4 separate regions of the Homo sapiens genome follow, and all the other regions are linked to region 2. Evidence: promoter capture Hi-C in 16 types of primary human blood cells and fetal thymus (Javierre and others, 2016). All regions are on one chromosome and are shown on one strand. Each heading gives the region's core, a stretch centred on a gene start or on the middle of the fragment in contact. The rest is flanking DNA. Distances are from core to core; before and after follow the strand shown. Region 1 overlaps FAM167A (family with sequence similarity 167 member A). Region 2 holds the start of FDFT1 (farnesyl-diphosphate farnesyltransferase 1). Region 3 overlaps FAM167A-AS1 (FAM167A antisense RNA 1). Region 4 overlaps BLK (BLK proto-oncogene, Src family tyrosine kinase).

Region 1 (2,700 bases), core at 124-2,623, 350 kb after region 2:
AGGAGCACGTGGTCCTCTGGTTGCAGAGAAGGCTGCACGGCCTGCCTGCTGTTCTGCACAAAATGGGGAGCTCCCTCCACACAGGAAAGGAGAGGGTGTTGGATATGGCAAACAGACACACAGTCCAACGAAAGACAAATAGCAGCAAGCATCCACTGTGCTCTTTAATATTCCTTCTCCAGTGCGTGCTGTGTCAGTCACTTACGAATGTCAGAAACCCCATCTCCAAGTAGCTGAAGCAAAAAAGGCGGAAGGTATACGCTGTGTAACCTGGGCAGGGCGGGTGGCTTCCCACGGGGCCCAGCTGCGGGCCCCCAGCTCCTTGCCACTGGGCTGTGATGGCCAAGCTGCCACACTGTCGGCTTGGCTTTGCTCTCCAGTTAGACCCTTTCCCCACATGTGCTGAGCATGGTGGCCCCAGCGGCCCCGGCCAGCTCAGAGCAAGGCTGGCCTCTGAGTGGTTCTGACACCAAAACTTCATCCTGTGTCTCCCCACGCCCCAGGAGAAAGGAAACCCCAGGGATGGGCTCCTGTGGGAAAGGGGGATGCACTTTCCAGAAGAGGGAGGAAGCTGCTGGATGGAAATGACCTCATCCTGCACTGGACTCCAAGGAGGCCCTCAAGCTAGGTCTGTCACATCAGACTGTCCCCTCCAACTCCAGCACATAGTCCTGGGATTTGGGATGAGCTGCAGCTGTTCCTGTCTTTGTCCCACTGCAGGCCCAGAGCCTGCACACCTATGTCTGGACACTTGTGGTCAGGGCAGGCAGGGTGGGTGGCATCCGTGGGGACAGGAGGGGAGGCACCATCCCAGGAAGCCTGGGTGTCTTTTTCTGCCTCTCTGAGCCCATCCAGGCTGGCTCAGATTTGAGCAAGGACAGGTCGCTGTGAGTGGGAGGAAATCTGTTTTATTGGCTCATTCATTCCACAGCATTTAAAGAGAGCAGCATTGTGCTAAGTACTGGAGGGTCCAGCATAAAAGGCTTGGTTCTCGTCCTGAAGTTGAGAGTCTGCTAGAGGCGACCATTGACAAAGGCCCTGGGTGTAAGTGCTGTGGCTTAAGAGGGGCAGTAAGCCCAGTGGTTAGGGGCCAGCTCAGAGCTAGACTGCAGAGGTTCAAATCCCAGCTTCACCACTTATAAGCTCTGTGGCTTCAGGCAAGGTCCCGAACCTGTCTATGCCTCAGTCTCTTCATCTGTAAAATGGGGATGATGATACCCCAGATTCATAGGGCTGTTGTGAGGATTAAATGTGTTAATACATGTAAAGCTTTTAGCACCACAGCTCGTGTGGTGTGCTGTAAGCATTAGCTAATGTTGCGATGACATAATTGTTTCTCTGATGTGCTCGGGTTGTCCTGGGTACACACAGCCCAGCCTGGGCAAATCAAGCAAAACTTCCCCCAGGAGAAAATCCCTGAGAACTGAACTAAGGCACAGAAGGGAGTGAAGGGCTTTCCAGGCTGGAGGAAAGCTTGTGCCGAGTCAGGGGTGTGAAAGAGCATGGTGTCCGGCGGGACAGGAGTGCTGGGTCGGGGTTGGAAAGATTGTGTCTTATGGAGAAGAAACGAAAGGGTTCTAGTGGAGAATGCGAGGCTGGAAGGAACAGCAGGAGCGCGTGGTGAGAGGAGGTGTGGAGGGGATGGGTCAGCAGTGCCTGCGTCTTCCCCTGCCCTTGGGAGCCCATCGAGGAAGTGGATGTGACCGTTTTCCAGGTGAACAGATTAGGTCATAATGAGACAAGGTGTTGGCTGAGCTGCCCCCACCTGGCTCCTCCAGCAGCCAGAGGAGTTAGCTCATGGTTGGCGAAGGCTCCTCCAAGGAGCCGCTGTGGGCCTGGGAGCCAGGGAGCTTGTTGGAACAGCAGTCTCTGTGTGTGGCATGGGTCCTCGGCACTGGCACACAGAGCTGCAGAAAGGCTGACGCGCCCCCCCAAGGGCTTGTCCCCACTGCTGCTGGGTGGCCTGCCTGGCGGGGCGTGCCTGGGCCTGGTGGGATTACAGGGTCTGATGTCGTTTTTCTAGACACCCTAGGTCCCAGGTCTGGCAGCGTCCTTTGGCTTCCTTCTCCGGCCCCTCCACCCCTAGGAACGACCCAGGTTACATGTAAAGAAAGCCCGTTTGTTTAGAGTGTTGGGGGGCTCTTCCTCCCGGGGCCTGGGCCCCAGGAGTCCCTGGTTTGTCAAGCGAGGGGAGGCCTCCACTGCTTTTCCAGCCCAGGAAGCTGCCCAGTGCTGGCATCTGTTCCCCGGCACCCGGCCAGCACCTCTCTGCCGGCTCAGGCCGGGTCCAGCTCAGTGCCCAGTGAGCAGTGACAAGCTTTTCTGCTGTCACGTCCCTGCGCCTGTGTGGGTGACATTCCAGCTGAGCTCCTGTGCCTAGTGGGAGGGAAGAAACCCCTTTGGGCTTGTTCAGGCACCAGGGCACCCAGGGGGACAGTGCTCCCCAAACACTGACGACCAGGAAAACACATGCTGCTTGAGCAACTCCTCGCGGTCTGACTGTGCTGGGGGCAATCCCATTCCTGCAGCAGCTCCTCACCATCTGGCTGTGCTGGGGGCAATCCCGTTCCTGCCAGCTACGGGTGACCACCTGCTCTAAAATAGTGACTCCCCAACTCAGGCCTCTCCACATTGCACACACGCCTATTCAGGTGGGTACAGCTCTTTACAGTTTAAAGAGAGCTCTCACATACCAGGTTC
Region 2 (2,817 bases), core at 262-2,761:
AGGTCTGACTGCACTCAGATCCCTTGCCCTGCTAGTATCTTCCTCTGCAGTGCTTTTCTCCACGTGAAAAACTGTACATTCGCTTTCTTAAATTGTCTCTCTTCCACTAAAAAGTAAGTTTTATAAAATCAAGGTCTTCACCTAGCTTGTTCACTGTTGTACCTCCAGCACCTAGAACACTATCTGATATACAACTGGTCGTCAAATATTTGTTAAATAAATGAATGCTATATCTAAATATAAAAAGTGACATCTGCCATATCAAATAATAGAAGTTATTCTGTAGCAAAATAATTCAAATAATGTAGCACCGGCAAAGAAAAGATGAAGAAAACTGAATGTTCTACAAATAGACTGAAGGATGTACCTGTATTAAAGATAGCACGTGAAAAATAACACCAAATGAGGGTGTAGTCTACTGGGGACAAAAACCAGAAATTTATTTTCTAGTGTGTTTACTGAAGCACATGGACACTGAAAGAAAGACTCCGATGTTCAGGCACCTATCAAGCCTCGGCCTGAGTCACATTTGCTACTGTCCTGTTGGCCCAAAAAAGTTACAGAAATCAGCCAGGCTGGTCCAGACCAGAAGAACTTGGCTGAATTTGTCTATTCATTCAATAATCGCGTACGAATAATTTTCTTGTTGGAATAAAAACACCTCCTATGCATTCATTAAACAAATAGTACAGGCATGAGGCAGATAAAAATCTAAGTAAAACCAAGTTCTGACCTTCCACCAACCACCTAGCTAATCCATAGACGTTAGATAACTCATTGGAACTTGGAAGCGTAGATAGGCGATTTTAAAACTCAGGAAGCACCGAGGATGAAGCGATGGAAGGCAGCAAGGCGGGGAGAGCTCCGGAAGAGGTGGTGAAACTGGAGGAGTCAGACTTCATTCCAGAAACGGCCTTCATGTGATGTTATCTGCATAGTTCATTCCGCTTACCAAAAAACTCACTCGTCCTCTCCCGCGTAACCCACCCACATTGCCTCAGATGTGTAACCCTCGGGTTAAAATACCGGTAAGCGCCGATGCTCACGGAGGGGACGAAACGGGGAGCGCAACCACCGGGAACCACGCAAAAGTCGCTCATGCCCAGGGCGGCTTGCGGGGGCAGGGACAGGTCAGCCAGGACGGCCGCGTCCACCCGGGCCCTACAGGGGGAAGGCTCGAGGAAAGGGGGACGGGAACACCCAGGCGTCGGCCCTGCTCGCCGCGCCCCTTGCCCCAGATCCGGGCCCGGCCGCTCAGGCCCTGAGGCCGGCCCAGCGAGCTCCTTCCCCGCCCCGGGCAAGCAGGGAGGCTCGGCCCACCTGGTCCATCTTGGGCATCACCTTCCGCTTGCCCCCGATCCGGAAGCGCACCAGGTTGTAGAACTCTTCGGGGTGGCCAAGGCATTTCACGAACTCCATCCTGGCGCAGGCGGCGGACTCCCGGGCGCGACTCTCACCTCTGCGGTCCCCAGGCGCTCACCGGCCGGCTGGACCTGTGGAGTAGGTGCTTCGAGGGGCTGGCCGGACAGGGGGCAGGCCTAGTACGGCGACGCCCCGCCCGCCGCTCCGCCCACTTCAACCGGCCTCGGCCGCCAGCGGGGCTAGCTGCGGCCTCGTGGGGTGGGCTGACGGGCGCTGATTGGCCAGGGCCGCTCACACTAGGAAGACCCCGGCCAATCAGTCGCGGAAGGAGACTGGCGTGATAACACTCTAGAAGCTCATTGGAGGCCGAGAAAGAGGCCGACGAGCGGGATTGGTGCCCTGATGGAGCCGGGCCTTTGTTTTCTTCCGCTTACCCCGGCTGGGAGCGCGAACGCTGTGGGGACTGGAGGTGAGGCGGTGGGGCTTAGGATGCGCAGGAGCCCAACGGTGGTCCGCAGTCGGGAGAGCAGTGCGGGGCTGCTTCCTCCCCACTTGGTCAATAAGTCGCCCACGTGTCCGGCCTCGGTGGCTCCTGCCAGCCGGGTGAGCTCTGCAGCCGCTCTCTGTAGAGCCTAAAACCGTGAAAAGGCCGGGCCAGCGCCAAGCTGGGCGTCTTTACTGTAACACACCCGAGCACAGCCCAGCTCGCCTGCCCGCCACCGCCATCCAGCCCCAGGGAGCCCCACACACTCCTGGAGCTTCAGCTGCCCCCTCTCTAGTGTTTACTTGAGATCCAGCTTAGTCCTAGAAAAAGGAGCTGAAGCCTTAGAGAGCCTGTAACAGGAATGTGGAAACTTCTCTCATCCTAGATCTCTCCAGCCCTAGAAACTACTGGCTACCCGTCCAGGCGTGGTGGCTCACGCCTGTAATCGCAACACTTTGGGAGGCCAAGGCGGGTGGATCACGAGGTCAAGAGATCGAGACCATCCTGGCCAACATGGTGAAACCCGTCTCTACTAAAAATACAAAAAAGCCGAGTGTGGTGGTGGGCGCCTGTAGTCCCAACTACTCCGGAGGCTGAGGCAGGAGAATCACTTGAACCCGGGAAGCGGAGTTTGCAGTGAGCCAAGATGACACCGCTGCACTCCAGCCAGGCCAACAGAGCAAGACTACGTCTCCAAAAAAAAAAAAAAACCTACTGGCTACCTAAGCCATCCTGCAGTCTGTTTTAACACAGCAACCAGTAATCCTTTTAAAACCTGTCAGGTCTAGCCGAGCGCGGTGGCTCATGCCTGTAATCCCAGCACTTTGGGAGGCCAAGGCGGGCGGATCACCTGAGGTCTGGAGTTCAAGACCAGCCTGGCCAACATGCTGAAACTGCGTCTCTACTAAAAATACAAAAATTAGCCAGGCATGGTGGCAGGCGCCTATAATCCCAGCTACCTGGGAGGCTGA
Region 3 (2,700 bases), core at 154-2,653, 390 kb after region 2:
TGGGCAACATGGTGAGACCCTATCTCTACAAAAAGTAGAAAAAATAGCTACCCACATGCCCAGCTACTCAGGAGGCTGAGATGAGAGGATCACCTGAACCTGGGGAGGTCGAGGCTGCAGTGAGCCACGATCACGCCACTGCACTTCAGCCTGGGCCACAGAATGAAACCTTGTCACATGCACGCAAAAAGACGAGAACTTCTATTAATGTTTTAAACCTCTTCTTTTCTGCTTTCAATGTGCTCTAAATATGTATAATATATGGGTACAGACATGTATATTATATAAATCTGTTGGGGAATGCACAAACATTTTCACAGATGGAGGGCAAGTCAGACAAGAGTGAGGCCCGGCCTTTGCCTGCGCCACATTGGATTCACCCCATATCCAAGCCTCAGGCTGTGCCAAACTGGATGAGGGACGATGCTTCCTCATGCGAGGTGGCACGGGCACAGCCTCTGCCCAGTGTCCTACTGCCCCTGTGTGGCCACATATGGCGTCTGCACACACCTGAGTCGCTGGGTAAAAGGCACCATATTTCTGCCAATCTGCTCTGGGCTCTGTTCCCCTTGACAGACCTGTCACAGGACAAACCCCTAAACCGGGTTCAGCCTGGGAGGCCACATGGGTTCTTGGCTTTGCACAGGAAGAAATTCAAGAGTGAGCCGACAGAGTCAAGTGAAAGCAAATGTATTAGGAAAGGAAAGGAATAAAAGAGTGGCTACTCCATAGGCAGAGCAGCCCGGGACTGCTGGTTGGCTATTTCTTTATTGATCATATGCTGAAGAAGGAGTGGATCATTCATGAGTTTTCGAGGAGAGGGGCAGGGAATTCTCGTAACTGAGGGTTCCTCCCCCTTTCAGGCCATATAGGGTAGCTTCCAGGCATTGCCACAGCACTTGTGAACTGTCATGGCGCTGGTGGGAGTGTCCTTTTAGCAGCTAATGCATTATAATTAGCGTATAATGAGCAGTGAGGACGACCAGAGGTTGCCTTTGTTCCCATCTTGGTTTTGCTAGATTTTGATCGGCTTCTTGACCACATCTCATTTTATCAGCAGGGTCTTTGTGATCTGTACCCTGCAAAACAAGCCCTCCCCAACTCCTATCTCAAACCCACAATGAAGCCCATGTCAGAAGCACCAGGGGTAGAAAACAGAAGGTGGGGAGAGAGAGGGGGAGGAAGAGAGGAAGCAAGAGAGAGAGGAAGGGAGAGAGAGAAATGGGGAGAAGGCCAAGAAAGAGAGAAGGTGCAAGAAACAGTGAAACGCAGGAGGTTATTTTTAAGATGGGATATGGTCACCAAATGCAAGCACATGAACCAGCCTTCCTTTCCTGCACTGCCCCCATCTCCCCTTTTCAGAATGTTCTGGTCAAGTCTAAGAACAGGGCCTAGAAATCACAGCTTCTGAGTTTGAGGCTCAGGGGCAGGAGCAGATGCAAGACCCAGCAGCCCTGCAGAAGGCCCCAGTCCCTGACGCCCCATTCCACCACCCAGAGTGGCCTGCCATCACCCATTGTCCATGTGAGCCCAGAGCTAGCTCCAGCCAGGCGGGCGACTGCAGTCCCCTCTCATCTCTGGGCGGGCCCCTGGCAGGTCACCTCCACACAGCACAGCCCTTCAGGGGGCCCAAAGCAGGAAGGCAGGAGGCCCTACTGCCCACTTTCTGCAGGGGACAGAAGGACAGCGGGGTCACCTCCTGGATCCTGGCTCCCATCCAGCCACCTTGCTCTGCAAAGCTGCCTACGTGCTCTCTCTCTCTTTCTGTCTCAGAAAAGACACAGCTGATGGAACCATCATGAAAATGTTGCAGGGCACCCTGAGATGCAGAACTTGATTTCTTTTAAGCAAGAGAATTTGTGTTTAAAAGACTCCAGCCCCTTCTATTTCTAGCAGACGAGACAGTGAGTCTTCCTGAGACAGACGCCAGCATGGCCCCTTTCAGTGAGTGAGAGGAAAGGCAAGTCAGGACTCCTCTTCTTCTGCCGGAGCCAGACCCTCCACTCCCCACTGAGATTGCTAGGGAGGGATGGACAAGTGATTGTATTGGGGCCAAGAAGCCTTCCAGAAGAAAGGGCTCCTGGCTCCTTCCCAGATGAACGCTACTGAAGCATCTCTAACTGCCGGAACGCTGTGATCCCAGACAGGCCAGACTGTGGGACGTGGGTGAGCCCCATCACAGGGGCCATGACACTGGGAACCCAGGCCATGGAGGGGTGACATCCTCCACTTCAAGGGGCAGAGCAGACCTGTGAGGGGCAGCCCCAGGGACAAGCGAGTCTTGGTGAAAAAGGGAGAGGAGAAAGGTTTGTCGTGATGAAATGCGGCTCAGAATTATATCGCATAAAGTATTAGGAGAGGCATGACCTTATGTCGCCCCCGAGCTGCTGGGACACATGACTTAGAGCACGTGTCTCTTAGAGCATCTGGCTCTGCTGTCAGAGCCAGAGGGCTTCAGCAATCAGGGGGGTCTCCTCCTATGACAAGAAGCAGGTCCAGGCGCTGGAGTGGTCGGAACTGTTCATTCGCTCTGCCCTGCAGTGCCTCCTCCACCTACTCCCTGTCAGAGCCACAGTAGAGGAGGTCTGAGAACACATATCTGTCCTGGTCTTGCCCTTCTGCCTCTTAAACAAACGGTTTTTTCACTTTTATCCTGCGGACCCATGGTGTTAAGGAAATCCTAACGCGCCCCCTGCCGGA
Region 4 (2,833 bases), core at 84-2,583, 270 kb after region 2:
AAAACAATCTTAAAAGCTGCTTTAAAGAGGTACATTATATTCTTAGAAGAAAACCTAGAAGGAAATCTTTGTGACCTTGGTGTCACAAAGGATATAAAGAATATGAGTCAGAAGCATACAAACGTGACCTTCTATTCCCTTAGAATAGATTATTCCCTTAGAATAGAAGATCATAAAGTATACAAGAAAAATTGATAAATTAGACTTTTCAAAATTAAGAACTTCTGCACTTTAAAAACACCATTAAGAAAAGAAATAGCTAAATCAGAGACAGGCAGGACATTTTTGAAAAACATGTATCTATATGAGAATATATAATTAACTTTTAAACTCTATAAAAGAAGCCAAAAATTCAATTTAACAAACAGTTGAACAGAGAAGACAGCTGAGCAGCACACAAACCCATGAACAGGTGTTCGGTGTCGTCAGTCATTAGGGGAATGGCAACTAAAACCACAGTGAAATGCCACCACACAACCACCCAGATGCTAAAATTAGATGACCGATCATACCAAGTGTTGGCAAGCATATGGAGAAACTAGAATGCTCACCTGAGGCTGATGGTAAGGTGAAACGAAACAACTTTAGGAAACAATTTGGGAGCTTCTTAACCTGTGACCCAGATATTTCACTTCTTGTTGCTTATCAAAGAGAAATAAAAACATATGACCACAGAAAGACTTGACATATATGTTCTTAGCATTGTTACTCATATTAATTAGCTCCCAGCTGGAAACAACCAAAACATTCAGTAACTGGAAAAATCTTTTCGACTTTTCACTTAAAATTGTTGCTGATTCTTTTTGTTTTGTTTTTCAGAGTAAAGAAAACTTCTACTGAGCTATTTACAACTTTTAACAATTGAGCAAAATATACTCCTGTAAACAAAATTTAGAGCATATTTCTTTCTCTTTACCTGCCTTCTCCAGAATTTGGAAATTATTTGTGAGTATTTTTAACATAAGGCAATATAGTTACTTGAGTAAGTTCAATAAGAATGTGTTTTCTTTTGTAGCAAGACACAGTTGGAGACACTGCTTATTTTACCAAGGCTTTGACTGAAATGACATATTTTCAGACTGCTTTAAGAAATCGAGGCTGACCTACAGAGATGATGAAAGCCCCTTGGAGGAACTGACCTCCTACCTTGTCCTGTACAGGATTCCCGACCTGTGGCAAATAAAGAATGTCACTTTCTGACAGGCCCAGGAACTCCAAGCTTTGTTGGGACCTCAAGAAGAAAGGAATTCACCCAATTCATACAAGTATCTGCAGGCACAAATAAATCCTTGGCTGGGCTCAAGAGACTTTTAAAAGGTCTAATCTGAGATTCCTTATGAAAAAAATTCCAGCAAAGCCAGTTAGAAAAAAAGAGCCTATATGGCCAATAATTATTCTTGCTGCACTTTATGTAAATAATTAGGCAAAGTATAATAAGGCAAGCTTATTTTGCAAATAAATTGGTCTTGTCTTTAGTAAAAATAAACTGGAGAGAGAAAAATTATGTTTCAAAACAGCTACAGCACACCTGTTATTAGATTCCAGCCTCATCCATTGTTCTTGAGCTTCTGCTGATGACCCCATATTTGGTTGATTTTTGGGGTTATTCACCTGGATTCCTTGAGGCTTCAGGTCAGTTCTACAGGGACTCCTGAAGCTAGGACTTTTGAAACTGCCGCTGCAAAATTACAACTGAGACAGTGAAAGAGATCTAACCTAACCAACTGCATCTTGCTTCTAACCTCCAAGCTGTCCTTGGTCATTCCTGGGCATAGGCTGAACTAATTTTGGGAAGAAGTTAATTTATAGTTTGTAGTTAAAAATGAAGACAATAACAGCGCATTCCAGAAGAACCCTCCTTCTTTCCTGGGAACTAGATGCCTTTGTAGGACTAACAAATTAGCCACAGGATTAGAAATTATGATTTAGGAGTCATGCAGCTGGAGGCTACAAGATTCTGATCTCCCACCCCCCAAACTGCTCCTAAGATCAGCGCTTGAGATATTTTGCAGACCTGGCACTTGATGGATCAGCTGGCACCACCCAGATCAAGAAACCAGCTCATCTGATCTGTGGCTCCCACCCAGGAATTGACTCAGCGCAGGAAGACAGCTTTGACTCCCTGTGATTTCATCTCTGACCCAACCAATCAGCACTCTCGACTCACTGGCTTCCTCCACCCACCAAATTATTCTTAAAAACTCTGATCGCCGAATGCTCAAGGAGGCTGATTTGAGTAATAATAAGACTCCGGTCTTCCACACAGCTGGCTCTGTGTGAATTACTCTTTCTCTTTTGCAATTCCTCTGTCTTGATAAATTGGCTTTGTCTAGGCAGCGGGCAAGGTGAACCCACTGGGCGATTTACACTTTCACTCCTTATATTAGGGCTAATTATTATTATTACTATTATTTTAAATTTTAAGTTATGGGGTACGTGTGCAGAATGTGCAGGTTTGTTACATATGTAAACGTGTGCTATGGTGGTTTGCTGCACCTATCAACCCATCACCTAAGTATTCGGTCCAGCATCCATTAGCTATTTTTCCTGATGCTCTCCTTCCCGCTCCCCAATAGGCCCCAGTGTGTGTTATTCCCCTCTGTGTGTCCATATGTTCTCACCGTTCAGCTCCCACTTATAATTGAGAACATACAGTGTTTGGTTTTATGTTCCTGCGTTAGTTTGCTGAGGATAATGCCTTCCACCTCCATCCACTTCCATGCAAAGGACATAATCTCGTTCCTTTTTACGGCTCATTATTTTTCTTCTTAAATGCTGTACTAAATCTGTGGATAAGAGCACCAATGTTTTCGTTATACACATGTTGGACCCC

Evidence for each region. The method cuts DNA at HindIII sites, captures the fragments that hold promoters and counts their contacts. A CHiCAGO score of 5 or more calls a contact.
Region 1: a fragment that was not itself captured here is called in contact with the fragment with the promoter of FDFT1 in region 2 in 1 of 17 cell types (naive B cells); the score reaches 6.7 in naive B cells.
Region 3: a fragment that was not itself captured here is called in contact with the fragment with the promoter of FDFT1 in region 2 in 1 of 17 cell types (total B cells); the score reaches 5.7 in total B cells.
Region 4: a contact is called between a fragment that was not itself captured here and the fragment with the promoter of FDFT1 in region 2, in 1 of 17 cell types (naive B cells). The highest score is 7.2, in naive B cells.

Annotation. Positions count from the first base shown.
Region 1 is chr8:11,448,920-11,451,619 of GRCh38, reverse strand. All of the region lies in intron 1 of FAM167A (family with sequence similarity 167 member A), which reads left to right. Among named protein-coding and RNA genes, the nearest start is that of FAM167A, 16 kb to the left of the region's middle. The HindIII fragment of the contact is 204 bases long and covers 1,272-1,475 here.
Region 2 is chr8:11,801,435-11,804,251 of GRCh38, reverse strand. FDFT1 (farnesyl-diphosphate farnesyltransferase 1) reads right to left here and starts at 1,511. Exons shown (of 8, transcript NM_004462.5): 1 at 1,321-1,511. The coding sequence starts at 1,419. RefSeq lists silencers at 1,133-1,252, 1,463-1,712 and enhancers at 1,783-1,942, 1,980-2,721, 2,722-2,817. The HindIII fragment of the contact is 12,361 bases long and covers 1-2,817 here.
Region 3 is chr8:11,411,658-11,414,357 of GRCh38, reverse strand. The region is part of intron 3 of FAM167A-AS1 (FAM167A antisense RNA 1); the gene reads right to left. Among named protein-coding and RNA genes, the nearest start is that of FAM167A-AS1, 45 kb to the right of the region's middle. RefSeq lists an enhancer at 2,564-2,700. The HindIII fragment of the contact is 4,489 bases long and covers 1-2,700 here.
Region 4 is chr8:11,528,687-11,531,519 of GRCh38, reverse strand. All of the region lies in intron 1 of BLK (BLK proto-oncogene, Src family tyrosine kinase), which reads right to left. Among named protein-coding and RNA genes, the nearest start is that of BLK-AS1, 28 kb to the left of the region's middle. The HindIII fragment of the contact is 224 bases long and covers 1,222-1,445 here.